Linked DNA regions of Homo sapiens: all the other regions are linked to region 1. The links are contacts of gene promoters, found by promoter capture Hi-C in blood cells and fetal thymus (Javierre and others, 2016). All regions are on one chromosome and are shown on one strand. Each heading gives the region's core, a stretch centred on a gene start or on the middle of the fragment in contact. The rest is flanking DNA. Distances are from core to core; before and after follow the strand shown.

What was found. Contacts are between HindIII fragments. The CHiCAGO score rates a contact against its expected background, and 5 or more counts as called.
Region 2: a contact is called between the fragment with the promoter of ZC2HC1C here and the fragment with the promoter of NPC2 in region 1, in 4 of 17 cell types (fetal thymus, total CD8 T cells, M2 macrophages and 1 more). The highest score is 7.6, in fetal thymus.
Region 3: the fragment with the promoter of TMED10 here is called in contact with the fragment with the promoter of NPC2 in region 1 in 1 of 17 cell types (naive CD4 T cells); the score reaches 5.9 in naive CD4 T cells.
Region 4: a contact is called between the fragment with the promoter of MLH3 here and the fragment with the promoter of NPC2 in region 1, in 2 of 17 cell types (fetal thymus and non-activated CD4 T cells). The highest score is 6.7, in fetal thymus.

Annotation. Positions count from the first base shown.
Region 1 is chr14:74,491,851-74,494,646 of GRCh38, forward strand. It overlaps NPC2 (NPC intracellular cholesterol transporter 2), which reads right to left and starts at 1,455. Exons shown (of 5, transcript NM_006432.5): 1 at 1,343-1,455. The coding sequence starts at 1,424. It overlaps ISCA2 (iron-sulfur cluster assembly 2), which reads left to right and starts at 1,915. Exons shown (of 4, transcript NM_194279.4): 1 at 1,915-1,995; 2 at 2,200-2,302; 3 at 2,425-2,540. The coding sequence starts at 1,925. RefSeq lists silencers at 1,208-1,267, 1,438-1,717 and an enhancer at 1,918-1,997. The HindIII fragment of the contact is 4,485 bases long and covers 1-2,796 here.
Region 2 is chr14:75,068,252-75,071,189 of GRCh38, forward strand. ZC2HC1C (zinc finger C2HC-type containing 1C) reads left to right here and starts at 1,390. Exons shown (of 3, transcript NM_024643.4): 1 at 1,390-1,498; 2 at 2,304-2,938. The coding sequence starts at 2,323. It also overlaps a transcript of ACYP1 not described here. RefSeq lists enhancers at 1,033-1,584, 1,585-2,136 and a silencer at 1,289-1,408. The HindIII fragment of the contact is 2,993 bases long and covers 1-2,161 here.
Region 3 is chr14:75,175,354-75,178,053 of GRCh38, forward strand. TMED10 (transmembrane p24 trafficking protein 10) reads right to left here and starts at 1,259. Exons shown (of 5, transcript NM_006827.6): 1 at 1,002-1,259. The coding sequence starts at 1,226. RefSeq lists enhancers at 1,083-1,655, 1,170-1,409. The HindIII fragment of the contact is 2,239 bases long and covers 1-1,425 here.
Region 4 is chr14:75,050,214-75,052,970 of GRCh38, forward strand. MLH3 (mutL homolog 3) reads right to left here and starts at 1,254. Exons shown (of 13, transcript NM_001040108.2): 1 at 1,167-1,254. RefSeq lists a silencer at 867-1,056. The HindIII fragment of the contact is 13,274 bases long and covers 1-2,757 here.

The DNA of each region.
Region 1 (2,796 bases), core at 205-2,704:
AGCCCTTTCCTGAAAAACCCCTTCTTGCCTGGGGACCGGTCTGCCTTTGTAGGACTAACAAATTAGCTACGAGTTTAGGGGCCACGCCGCCTCTGGCTGTAAGAGTCTGAACCTCCCCAAATTGCTCCTGGTAATGATATCACTATTGTAAAACCTAAGGTCAGTGCTTGAGATATTTTGCAGATCCTGCATTCCGATGCAGCAAATGACACCACCCAGAGGTCAGCAAGAAGAACTCACTTCGACTCTCCTATGATTTTATCTTCAACCTGACCAATCAGCACTCCCCACTTTCCAAGCCCATACCCGCCAAATTATCCTTAAAAACTCTGATCCCCGAATGCTCGGGGAGACTGATCTGAGTAACAATAAAACTCCGGCCTCCCCCACAGCCGGCTCTGCGTGAATTACTCTTTTCGCCACTGCAAATCCCATCTTGATAAATCCGCTCTGTCTAGGCAATGCGCAAGGTGAACCCCTTGGGCGGTTACACTTACTCTGGCTCCCCATTCTGCTGCGTGACTTTAGGTAGGCTACCCAACATCCCTGGAATTCAATGATTGATTATACGATCTCCGTGCTTCCTTTCCACTCATAGATCTTACAAAGTCAGTTTCATGCCTCTTTCATTGACAGTTCTATCTCTCTATCTCCACCTCTGAACAACATTGCTCGAGTTTCTGTTCCGACAATTCTATAGACTCGACTCAATGAAGGCACTCAGAATTTCTACCACCTGTTGTATTTTCCAACAAAGATTCCAACCACAGCGGCGAGAGGGAGTTATGTATCACAAGCTGTGATTAGAGACACAATGAGATTTATACAAGGAAAAACTGATTAAGAATCACAAGATTCCAAAGCCCAAAGGAAGTCCTATTTGTAACAATAAATGATGAAAAAGGGGAATTGACTTTTGACTTGTCAGCAAAAACGAAATTAAAAGAAAAGCAAAAGGAGTTGGAAGGGGGAGGCGGGATTCCAAGATACAAAGCATAAATAAAAAGAAGTTCTGTGCTCCACCCCTCCACCAGAGCTGGATACAGCCCTTCTGTTGTCCGCCCTACAAACTTTAGGAAACTTCAGCAAAAGGCCCACCTCCTGGAGTTCCCAGGAACCCCAAAACACGCGTTCTAAGGAAAGAAACAAAGTTGTGCGCGGTCGGGTTTCATGGAGGCCGGCGCCTTCTCCCCCGACCCAGCCCATTCCAGTTAGGTAGGGTCCAAGGCTCAGCCTGGCCGCCCGAGGGATCCGCCCAGCCCAGCCCCAGGGGTCTCAGCGCGGGGGTCCGGCGGGGCCTTCCACAGAGGGCGCGGGAACCTTGGGCGGGCCTGGGGCTCACCGCAGTCCTTGAACTGCACCGGTTCGGCCTGGGCAGCGGTGCTGAGCGCCAGGAGCAGGAATGTAGCTGCCAGGAAACGCATCGCGGATAACGAAGTTCCAAGCTCGGGAAAGAAGCAGCGGCCGCCCGCGGTCACAAGACAAACCTGTCGGGGCGGGCCCGGGGAGGAGCCCAGTCAGGCGACCTGTCACCAGTAACCACAGCTGAGGCCCGCCCGCGCCCCGCCCCCGGCTCCGGAAAGCCAGCTCCAGCCCTCTCAGGCCCAGAAGCCTGCAGTCTCCGCCCATGCCATCCCCTCAGAGGCCTGACCCGCCCGGACCCACCTCCGCCCCGCCCCGCCTCACTCCTCCCCGCCCCGTTCCTTCCCTTTAGAGCACCTCTCCGGCTTCCTGGGTGCGTCCCCGCCGCTGCCGTCTGGAGCATTCCTAGCCAATCAGACACCTTCTCCTCCCGCACTACCCAATAGGCATGTTGGGGGGGCGGGGCCTCCGTGAAGTCCCGGCCTCCTGTTCGTTCTCTCCGCCTCCCGAGGCCCCGGGTGAGAAACGGGGGAGACGCGAGGGGCGGAGCTTGTGGAGGAAGATGGCTGCCGCCTGGGGGTCGTCCCTAACGGCCGCGACGCAGAGAGCGGTCACTCCCTGGCCGAGGGGCAGGTACCAAGACTAGAAAGGCACCTGGAAAGGGTGTTTGGTTCTGCGCCTCTAGGACAAATGGGAAACTAAGGCCTGTGGGGGATGCGAGGGTTTGGTGGGAGGCCGTCCAGGTGGGGGTCGCCAGGTTTAGCGTGAGGCGCTCCAGGTCGAGGGTTGCAAGGTGCCCCTTCTGCTCCCGGGCTCACCCTCCTCCCTTGCGCGCAGGCTCCTCACGGCCTCCCTGGGACCCCAGGCGCGTCGGGAGGCGTCGTCCTCCAGCCCCGAGGCCGGCGAAGGGCAGATCCGCCTCACAGACAGTTGCGTCCAGGTAGGAGGCCGGACGCGGAGCGGCGGTACCCAGGCGATTGGCGGGAGCAGCGGGAACTGCTCTTCACTCAGCCCTTTAACTCCCGTTTCCCGCTATTCTTGATCCCCCTTCCTGCATTTCAGAGGCTTTTGGAAATCACCGAAGGGTCAGAATTCCTCAGGCTGCAAGTGGAGGGAGGTGGATGCTCCGGATTCCAATACAAATTTTCACTGGATACAGTTATCAACCCCGACGACAGGCAAGGAGGAAGGGGTGGGCCCCCAAAGGAGGTACAGGAGGGACAAAAGTGTCTCCAGTTTAAGGTGCACTTTTATTCCAAATTTAAAGGGTTTACCTGGGATGGTTAACACCGCCCGTCTCACAGTGAGGATGCAGTAAAGGTTTGTTGTTCTGAATCAAAGTAACTAAGTTATAGGAGCAAAATTGATCTGCCCAGGTCCATTGGGTAGTCGGTAGAAAGTCAGGCCGGACTAGATTCCAGGCTTAAGTCCCTA
Region 2 (2,938 bases), core at 140-2,639, 580 kb after region 1:
CTGCACTTCAGCCTGGGCAACAAAACAGGGCGAGATTCCGTCTCAAAAAACAAAAAACAAACAACTTTAAAAAACCCCAAAAACCAACAAAACAGAAAACAAAACAAAACAAAAATGCAGGGGTAAAGTGATGGAGTCAATTCCCGGAGGGTACTGAAAAGGACTAATTCAAGAGAACTCAATGGAACTCAATGGAAAGTCGCCCTTCTTTCTCATAGAGGAGAGGGAAGGAGAGAGAGAGAGGAGAGAGGGAGACAGACAGAGACAGAAACAGAGGAGAGAGGGAGAGGAGGAAGAAGAGAGAGAGACAGAGAGAGAGAGAAAGAGAAAAAGAAAGCCGGTAAATTCTGCTGAGGGAAGCTGTGGGAGTTGATAATCGGGACCCTGAGTGGAGTGGGAAACGTCTGGAGCTGCATATACGGAGAGGCGGTAGAGTCAACTAGGGATGAAAACGAGGAATTAAAAAAAAAAAAAAGACTGATCTGGAGGGTCCACCAAGGAATTTCCTTGTAACGGGTAACAGCTGTAATATGACATGTTGAAGTATTAACACTGATGACTGCTGTCTACATTATTTTCCATGTGCATGAATTGAGTAGTTACAGGGAAAAAGCGAACTGCCTGTTCCAAACGGCTTACACAGATGAACTGAAGCGAAGAAGAAAAATGAACTTTCTTTTGATGTCAACAAGATAGAGTATCATTTACTGTTGAAGCCAGGTTATACTGATTATTTTCGATCTGGTAGTTAACTTTATCATCATTACATTTGGCTGAGTCATTCCTGGGCCCTAAGTAGAGACGGCTAGAATTACCACGTGAGTAAAACATTATAATATCAAAATAATTAGATTGGCCACAAAAACTACCACGGAAAGATACTGCGTAGCAAAAACGTTGGCAGCAAGTTCCAAAGCCTTGGCGAGGACAAGCAAGGAGCGCGCGCGTGCAGCCATACCTGGGGCCCGCCCAGCGCAGCCGAGCGCGCGGAGAAAGGCCAGCAGCAGCCCCGCTCCCGCCAGGCGGGCGGACGCCGGCATCCTGCGGCGGAAGCACGCGGAGGCACAGCCAGGGCCTCCGCCCTTTGCCAGACAAGGGCACACCCCAAGGTCTGGGAGCGTCGTTCTCAGAAAAGTACAAGTTCTTCTTTGAAGGAGCTCCAGAAAAGCCTCTCCCGCCCCTCCCCGGCTCCCCAAGGGCAGGGCTGGACCGAGCTGCAGAGTTGGCCGGACACTGACTGGGTCAAGTGACCTTGGGCTGACCGCACCCCCACCCCCGGTCGCCCCGGGTCGCTGGTGCACTGCGCCTGCGCGCGTCTCCCCGAGGAGTTCGCGGCGAGGGGCGGAGCTTGGCGCGCCAGTGCCTCGGTTTCCAGGCACCGGGAATAACAGAAGCCAGCTGAGAGCGCCTGCGCGGCTGTCGGTTGATGGGGAGGTCAGGTCTGGGAAACTAGGCCCTGGGGTTTTCCCTGAGCAGGAGCGGTGCCCGAGGGCCTCAGGTACGCAGAAGGGCGGGGAGACATGGGATCAGCACCTCCACCTCCTAAGGGACCGAAGGGCAGGAGAGCGAGAGGACTTGTCCCCAGAGGTGGAGTCCGAAGTGGGGGCGCCCCAGTTGACCCTTCGGGACAAAACGTGACTTCAGCCTTAAGGATCTAAAACCGGCCGCGGTCAGGTCAGGTGGCCCTCAACGCTCAGGTTACAAAACTTTTACAGTCTGCGCCACGGGGACTCCTGGGATGAGGGTTTGACAGCCAGGCACCTGCTCCAGGCCCTAGCAGCTTTTGTGCTCTTTGGAATCAAGCACGGTTCCAGCAGGAGGGAAGCCCTGAGAGTTCTTTGTGCCAGTCACTACCTCTGGGCCACAGCTTTCTCACCTGTAAAATGGTGAGGCTGGACTCTGCGGGAACCCTTCAGTTTACAGGGGAAGAAACGGGGGCCAGCAAGGGAGAAGTCGCTTGTCCTGTTACAGGCCTAGAACCTGACTTTCTAGTCAGGTGCTCTTTCCACCTACTATAGAGTATACTGTGCGTGGCAGAGGCTGGTGCTGGAGGAAAGGAAAGCTAGGTGGCAGGAACACCTGTAGCACCTTCGTTTTTCTACCCTCAGGGCCTAACACAGTGTCTTGTGCATAATCACTCACCAAATGGTTTTTGAAGGGAAGCTTTGGCAGGTCCAGCAACACTGTCCCCAGAAAAGTTTAAGGGAATGTGGGCAGGGCAAATGTAGAAATAGTTTGCTTTAGCAGCCGAGAGTGAACCTCAGACAAACTCTTCCCGTGTATCTGGTTTAAATCTCCCGTAGGCGTCAGTCCAGGCCCTGAATGGCTGGTCTCCAGCGGTTGGCGTCACATCTGCCTGTGGGCGTTATGCTCCCACATAATACAACGGAAGCTCCAGGGCCCCACTCAGCCAAGCAAGACTCTTACGAACAAGGTGACTCTTCCCAGCAGTCCTTGAAGGGGCACCTGAGGAACAATTTCCAGAAGCAGCTTTTGAGCAACAAAGAGTTGATTCTGGATAAAGTCTATACTCACCCCAAATGGAACACCCAAACAAAAGCCCGGAGCTACTCCTATCCCCACTGTACTGGAATCAGCCAGCAAGATCCAGAAAGTGATTCCCAGGGCCAAGGAAATGGTTTGTTTTACTCGTCAGGCCCTCAATCCTGGTATCCCAAAGCCAATAACCAGGACTTTATCCCCTTTACAAAGAAACGAGTTGGAGTGGACCGGGCGTTCCCATTGAAACCCATGGTCCACAGGAAGTCGTGCAGTACAGGTGAGGCTGGCACTGATGGGGACCATAATGTCTACCCAAGGCCCCCTGAGCCGAGAGAGTTTTCATCTAGGAACTTTGGTGTGAGGAACCAGGGCAACTTTTCTGTGGTTGGTACTGTTCTTGCTGCCACGCAGGCGGAGAAGGCCGTGGCAAACTTTG
Region 3 (2,700 bases), core at 9-2,508, 680 kb after region 1:
ACCATTTTGTAACCAATAATCGACTTTAATCAACTACAGAAATTACAAATTTAAAACAAGGAAGGAATAAGGTTGCAGCGCTTTTCCCTCAACATACTTAACTACCAAACTAAGTAAGAATCTATTCCATCGCAAGGACAGAAAACCAAACACCGCATGTTCTCACTCATAGGTGGGAATTGAACAATGAGAACACTTGGACACAGGGTGGGGAACATCACACACCGGGGCCTGTCGTGGGGTGGGGGGAGGTGGGAGGGATAGCATTAGGAGACATACCTAATGTAAATGACGAGTTAATGGGTGCAGCACACCAACACGGCACATGTATACATATGTAACAAACCTGAAAGTTGTGCGCATGTACCCTAGAACTTAAAGTATAATAATAATTTTGAAAAAAAAAAAAGAATCTATTCCATCTGTGACACTTACTAGTTTATCCTACCTCTGAGTCTCAGTTTCCTCATTTGTAAAATGGGGCTAACAGTACCTACCTACTTCATAGGGTAGTGCATGAACCAAATGGTAATATATGCAAAGTAGCACAGTAACTGACACAGCAGATGCTCAATAAATAACATTTTATTAATCACGGTTAGCTCTGTCTCCTTTACTTTCCTGCAGGTATCGCGGTATCTTATGATGCCAATCCGTATAAATATTCAACACCCCAACATTTATTTGGAGAACCAAATTACGGTTCAATGTATCTGAGACCAAAACTGGTATAGGACGTTGACAACCGCCCCAGCTCAGGTGTCACCACATCCGCCAAAGCCTCGCAGCCCTTCTTGGGGTTCCCAGGCGTTGGTGACCCGCCCCGCCCCGCGACAGGCAACCAGCGGGGTGAGGGGGCGGGCTCCACCGCACGTCCTTTGCGCTCCCGGGAGGCCAGAACAACTCCCAGGCCTCCGCCGGCCCGACTCCCCCGAACCCGAGCCTCCCCTCGCCTAAGCCTGCCGTCTTCCCTCCCGGCCCCACGTCGCCCAATGCCGCACCTTGAGGTGGCTGCGCAGGCCGCCAGCGCCCCCAGACTGGTCGGAGATCTCGTACGCGCCAGTCACTAGCAGGTCCTTGTGAATCTCCTCACGGAGGCACTTGCGAGAGTTAATGGGCAGATGGAAGGAGATGGCAAGGACCAATCTGGGGCCGAGCAGGAACAAAAGCAGCAACGCTAACGGAAAAGGGCCGCGCCGGGCTGGTGGGCCAGACAAACCAGACATGGTGCTGGAGACTCGTTCACCACCGAAGGCCTCAACCGCGCCGGAACCGGGGGGACCCACGTGACTCACCTCTGACCTTCTGATGCCGTCCGCGCCATTTTGGAGACTGGCATGTAGAGAAAGACTCTATAGCGAATCTTTTGAAAAGGGAAGAAAGGATAGGTACCATGTCAAAACCGCAAGTTTAAGCAGTTAAAGAAGCTTTAATAGAATACTATTGCAACAGTTTTATTTTTGTTGAAGTTAGTGACTACTGAGTCGGCCATGGCAAGTATGGGCAGCCCTGGAAGTAATTCTCCTTTAATTTCCGAAAGATGTACCCACGAGTTTAAAGGCGAGTGACACCATAGCAACCAAGCCCCAATAGGAAACAGCCACAAGGCCCTTCGCTGGGCCCGCCCACCGGCCGCCTAGGCGCGAGGGCGGGGAATGAGGCTGTGTCTCCGGGGATGGGGCGGTTTGCAGGCACTCCCAAGCGCCTTTGACACCTTGATGACACCTGGGGCACTGAGACACTAGAGAGGAAAATTTCGAGGAAAGATTTCAACTTGGCTATTAGACAGTGTGGACCTTAGAGAAGAAGTTTTAGGGGTCACCTGATGAATGTGTGCCGGGCAGACATCCGGTTCATGTCCCATAGCAGGGTATTTGGGCTGGAGTAATTGTCTGGCTAACTGAATGTACATGGTATTATTATTATTATTATTATTATTATTATTATTATTATTTTAGCAAACATTGAATGTGTTCTAAGCTATATTCAAAATAAATTTGAATTTGGTATTTAAATTGAATAAAACAACATGTTTTGGTCCAGTCTCAGATGAACATAATTAAGGGGTTAGCAGATAAGCGTTGTCAGGGAAAGTGCGTATGTGTGTGTTTTAAGTTCACAAACACTTTAGGGATCAAATTAACTATTAACATTTGCAAATAGACAAGCAAATTGACACGGTAATAATTCATGCATTCATTCAATGGAGTACCTACTGTGTGCCAGACATTATGCTATGCATGTATGTCAACACGTTTATTGATTTAACAAACTATTACTGGGATACTAGCAAATATTCAGAGCTGAAGAATATATTAAAATAAACGGCCAGGCGCGGTGGCTCACACCTGTAATCCCAGCACTTTGGGAGGCTGAGGCGGGTGGATCACGAGGTCAGGAGTTCAAGACCAGCCTGGCCAAGATGGTGAAACCCCGTCTCTACTAAAAATACAAAAAAATTAGCTGGGCTTGGTGGCGGGCGCCTGTAATCCCAGCCACTCAGGAGGCTGAGGCAGAGAATTGCTTGAACCCGGGAGATGGAGGTTGCAGTGAGCTGAGATGGCGCCACTGCACTCCAGCCTGGGCGACGGAGTGAGACTTGTCTCAGAAAAGAAAGAAGGAAAGAAAGAAAATGGAATTGCTCCTTGGCCTTTTGGCTAACATCAAGTGTAGAAAATAAACGTGGAAGACACAATAGCC
Region 4 (2,757 bases), core at 4-2,503, 560 kb after region 1:
TCAAATTGTATCAAAGAGAGATTGGGGGCATTAAGAGGTTATTATTATTATGGTTAAGTATAGTCACCTCAGGGAAAGAGGCTGGGAATGGGAAAAGATAAAGCAGGAAAATTCCTTTTCATATAAACCTTTCTTTGCCATTTGATTGTTAAATCCTGTTCATGTATTACTCTGATGTTTTTAGAAAGTCGTTATTATTCTTTTTTGAAACAGTCTCACTCTGTCACCCAGGCTGGAGTGCAATGACACAATCTCGGCTCACTGCAGCCTGCACCTCCCGGGCTCAAGCAATCCTCCAGCCTTAGCCTCCCGAGTAGCTGGGATTACAGGCGCTCGCCACCATGCCTGGCTAATTTTTGTCTCTTATGTAGAGATGGGGTTTCACCATGTTAACCAGCCTGGTCTCGAACTCCTGAACTCAAGTGATCCTCCCGCCTTGGCCTCCCAAAGTGCTGGGATTACAGGTGTGAACCACCGCGCCCGGCCAGAAGGTCATTATTAATATTCTTTTGGTCTTTACAGATGGGCATAAACTACCTTGGTAATAATAATGATGGCATGGGGCTGCCTGAACTTGATTTTAAGTTTTCCTGCAAGTGAAAACACAAAAACAAAAAACAAAACAAAAAAAACCAAACCCTAAGATTCCAGTGCCATTAAAGGTCTCCCCTTCTTCTCCATCAGTGAGAGCCACGTGGGTGGGCCCCTGCAGGCGGTGGGGCCGGTTTTCCAAACTCGGGACAAATCAGGGCTCTTAACTGCAGAATTTCTGCTGCTTTCTAAGCTAATGCACTAAGCAGCCGGCAGCAACTGACGGGTAAACGTTTAACAAGTATTCCGATTAATGTAAACCCAATGATTTCCTGATGACGCCTCCCAGCGCCTGGGACTGACGGGACGCACGGGCCTGGATCCAGGGCACGGGGGCCTGGGAGGGCCGCGCGGGCCGAGTCCGGGGCAGCGCTGCCTTCCCGCCAGGCCCAGCCCCTCCCTGGCCAGCCCCGTCCTTGTCCCCAAACTGGGCCCGCCCGGCCGCCAGGCCGCCGGGCCTCCGGGGCCCTCGCGCATCCGGCTCCGAAAGCTGCGCGCAGCCATCATCAGGGCCCTTCTGGTGTTAGAAGAGACCCCGGCATCATCTTTTCGTCGCGTGCTTCCCCCAGAGTCACCTGGAGTCCCGCTTAACAAATTCTCCGACACCAACCGCCTCGGACGCCGACGCGCGCACCTTGGATCTTGAGGCTCGTGCGTGCCCACGAGCATGCGCTTCGGAGGGGGCGCGCCAGGCCGCGAGACACCAGTGCGCATGCGCACCAGTTGTTCCAGCCAAGGATCCGCATCCCAGGGTTCAGTGAACCGGTACCTACAGTCTCAATCCTTATTCCCTTTTGGCATGGTGTTAAAGACTATGTCGTAGCTTTTACTTTTGTTTTTATTTTTTTTTCCCGTGTTTTCCCTTTCCTTTTTTTTCTCATTTTCACCTTTGCTCTTAACTACCGTTTAATTCAATATATATTTTATGTGTTTACTTATTGTCTTCTCTCCCTAGAATGTAAGCTATGTGAAGGTAAGGAGTTTATATATTTTGTTTACTGCTGTATCCCAGTTACCAAGAACAGTGCCTGGCCTATGGTAGGCACCGAATGAATGAATAATTCCAGAGCCTGCCATCTTAGAATTATGGCATTTGGAGCTGGAAAAGGCTGAGAAACTGTCTAACTCAACTCTTTTTTTTTTTTTTTTTTTTTTTGAGACGGAGTTTAGCTCTTGTTGCCCAGGCTGGAATTCAGTGGTGCGATCTCAGCTTACTGCAACCTCCGCCTCCAGGGTTCAAGTGATTCTCCTGCCTCAGCCTCCCGAGTAGCTAGGATTACAGGCATGCGCCACCACACTCGGCTAATTTTGTATTTTTAGTAGAGACGGGGGTTTCTCCATGTTGGTCAGGCTGGTCTCGAACTCCGGACCTCAGGTGATCTGCCCGCCTCGGCCTCCCAAAGTGTTGGGATTACAGGCGTGAGCCACCGCACCCGGCCTTTGCTCAACTCTTAATTTACAGATGACAACACCAAGACTCTCTTCACTGACTTGAATCTCCCCAGTGCCACCACAGCTTTTAGTTATAAAAATAACTAAAGGAGAGCAGAACTCTGAGAATGCTGTGAGAATAAAGTGTTTTGGAATTGTTAACCAGTCCTTAGTTTTTGCTTTCTATCTCATTTTCATTGAGAATTTAAAGTGGAATTTATAACGAATTTGTCAGACCTGGTAAGCATTTGATATATGCTAGTTTAGTGACTAACCAAACCCAACCAACCAGTCTTCTAGGGCTGATTAAGCAAAATCCTGATAACTGTTTATGATTATTACTATACCTAGGGCTGCCATAACAAAATACCTCAGACTGAGTAGCTTAAGCAGCAGAAGTCTATTTCCTCTCAGTTCTAGAGACTGGAAGTCTGAGATCAAGGTGTTGGCAGCAACGATTTCTCCTGAGGCCTCTCTCCTTGGCTTGTAGATGGCCATTTTCACAGGGTCTTTGATTTTTGCACACGTGTCTATAGCCAATATGTTCTCTTATAAGAACACCAGTCAGATTGGATTAGGGCCCACCCTCACAGCCTCATTTAATCTTAATCACCTCTTTAAAGGCCCTATGTCCAAATACAGTCACTTTCTGAGGTACTGGGGACTGAGACTTTAACATATGAATTTGGTGGGACACAGTTCAGCCCATAACATAACTTTATGTGAATTCCTTAC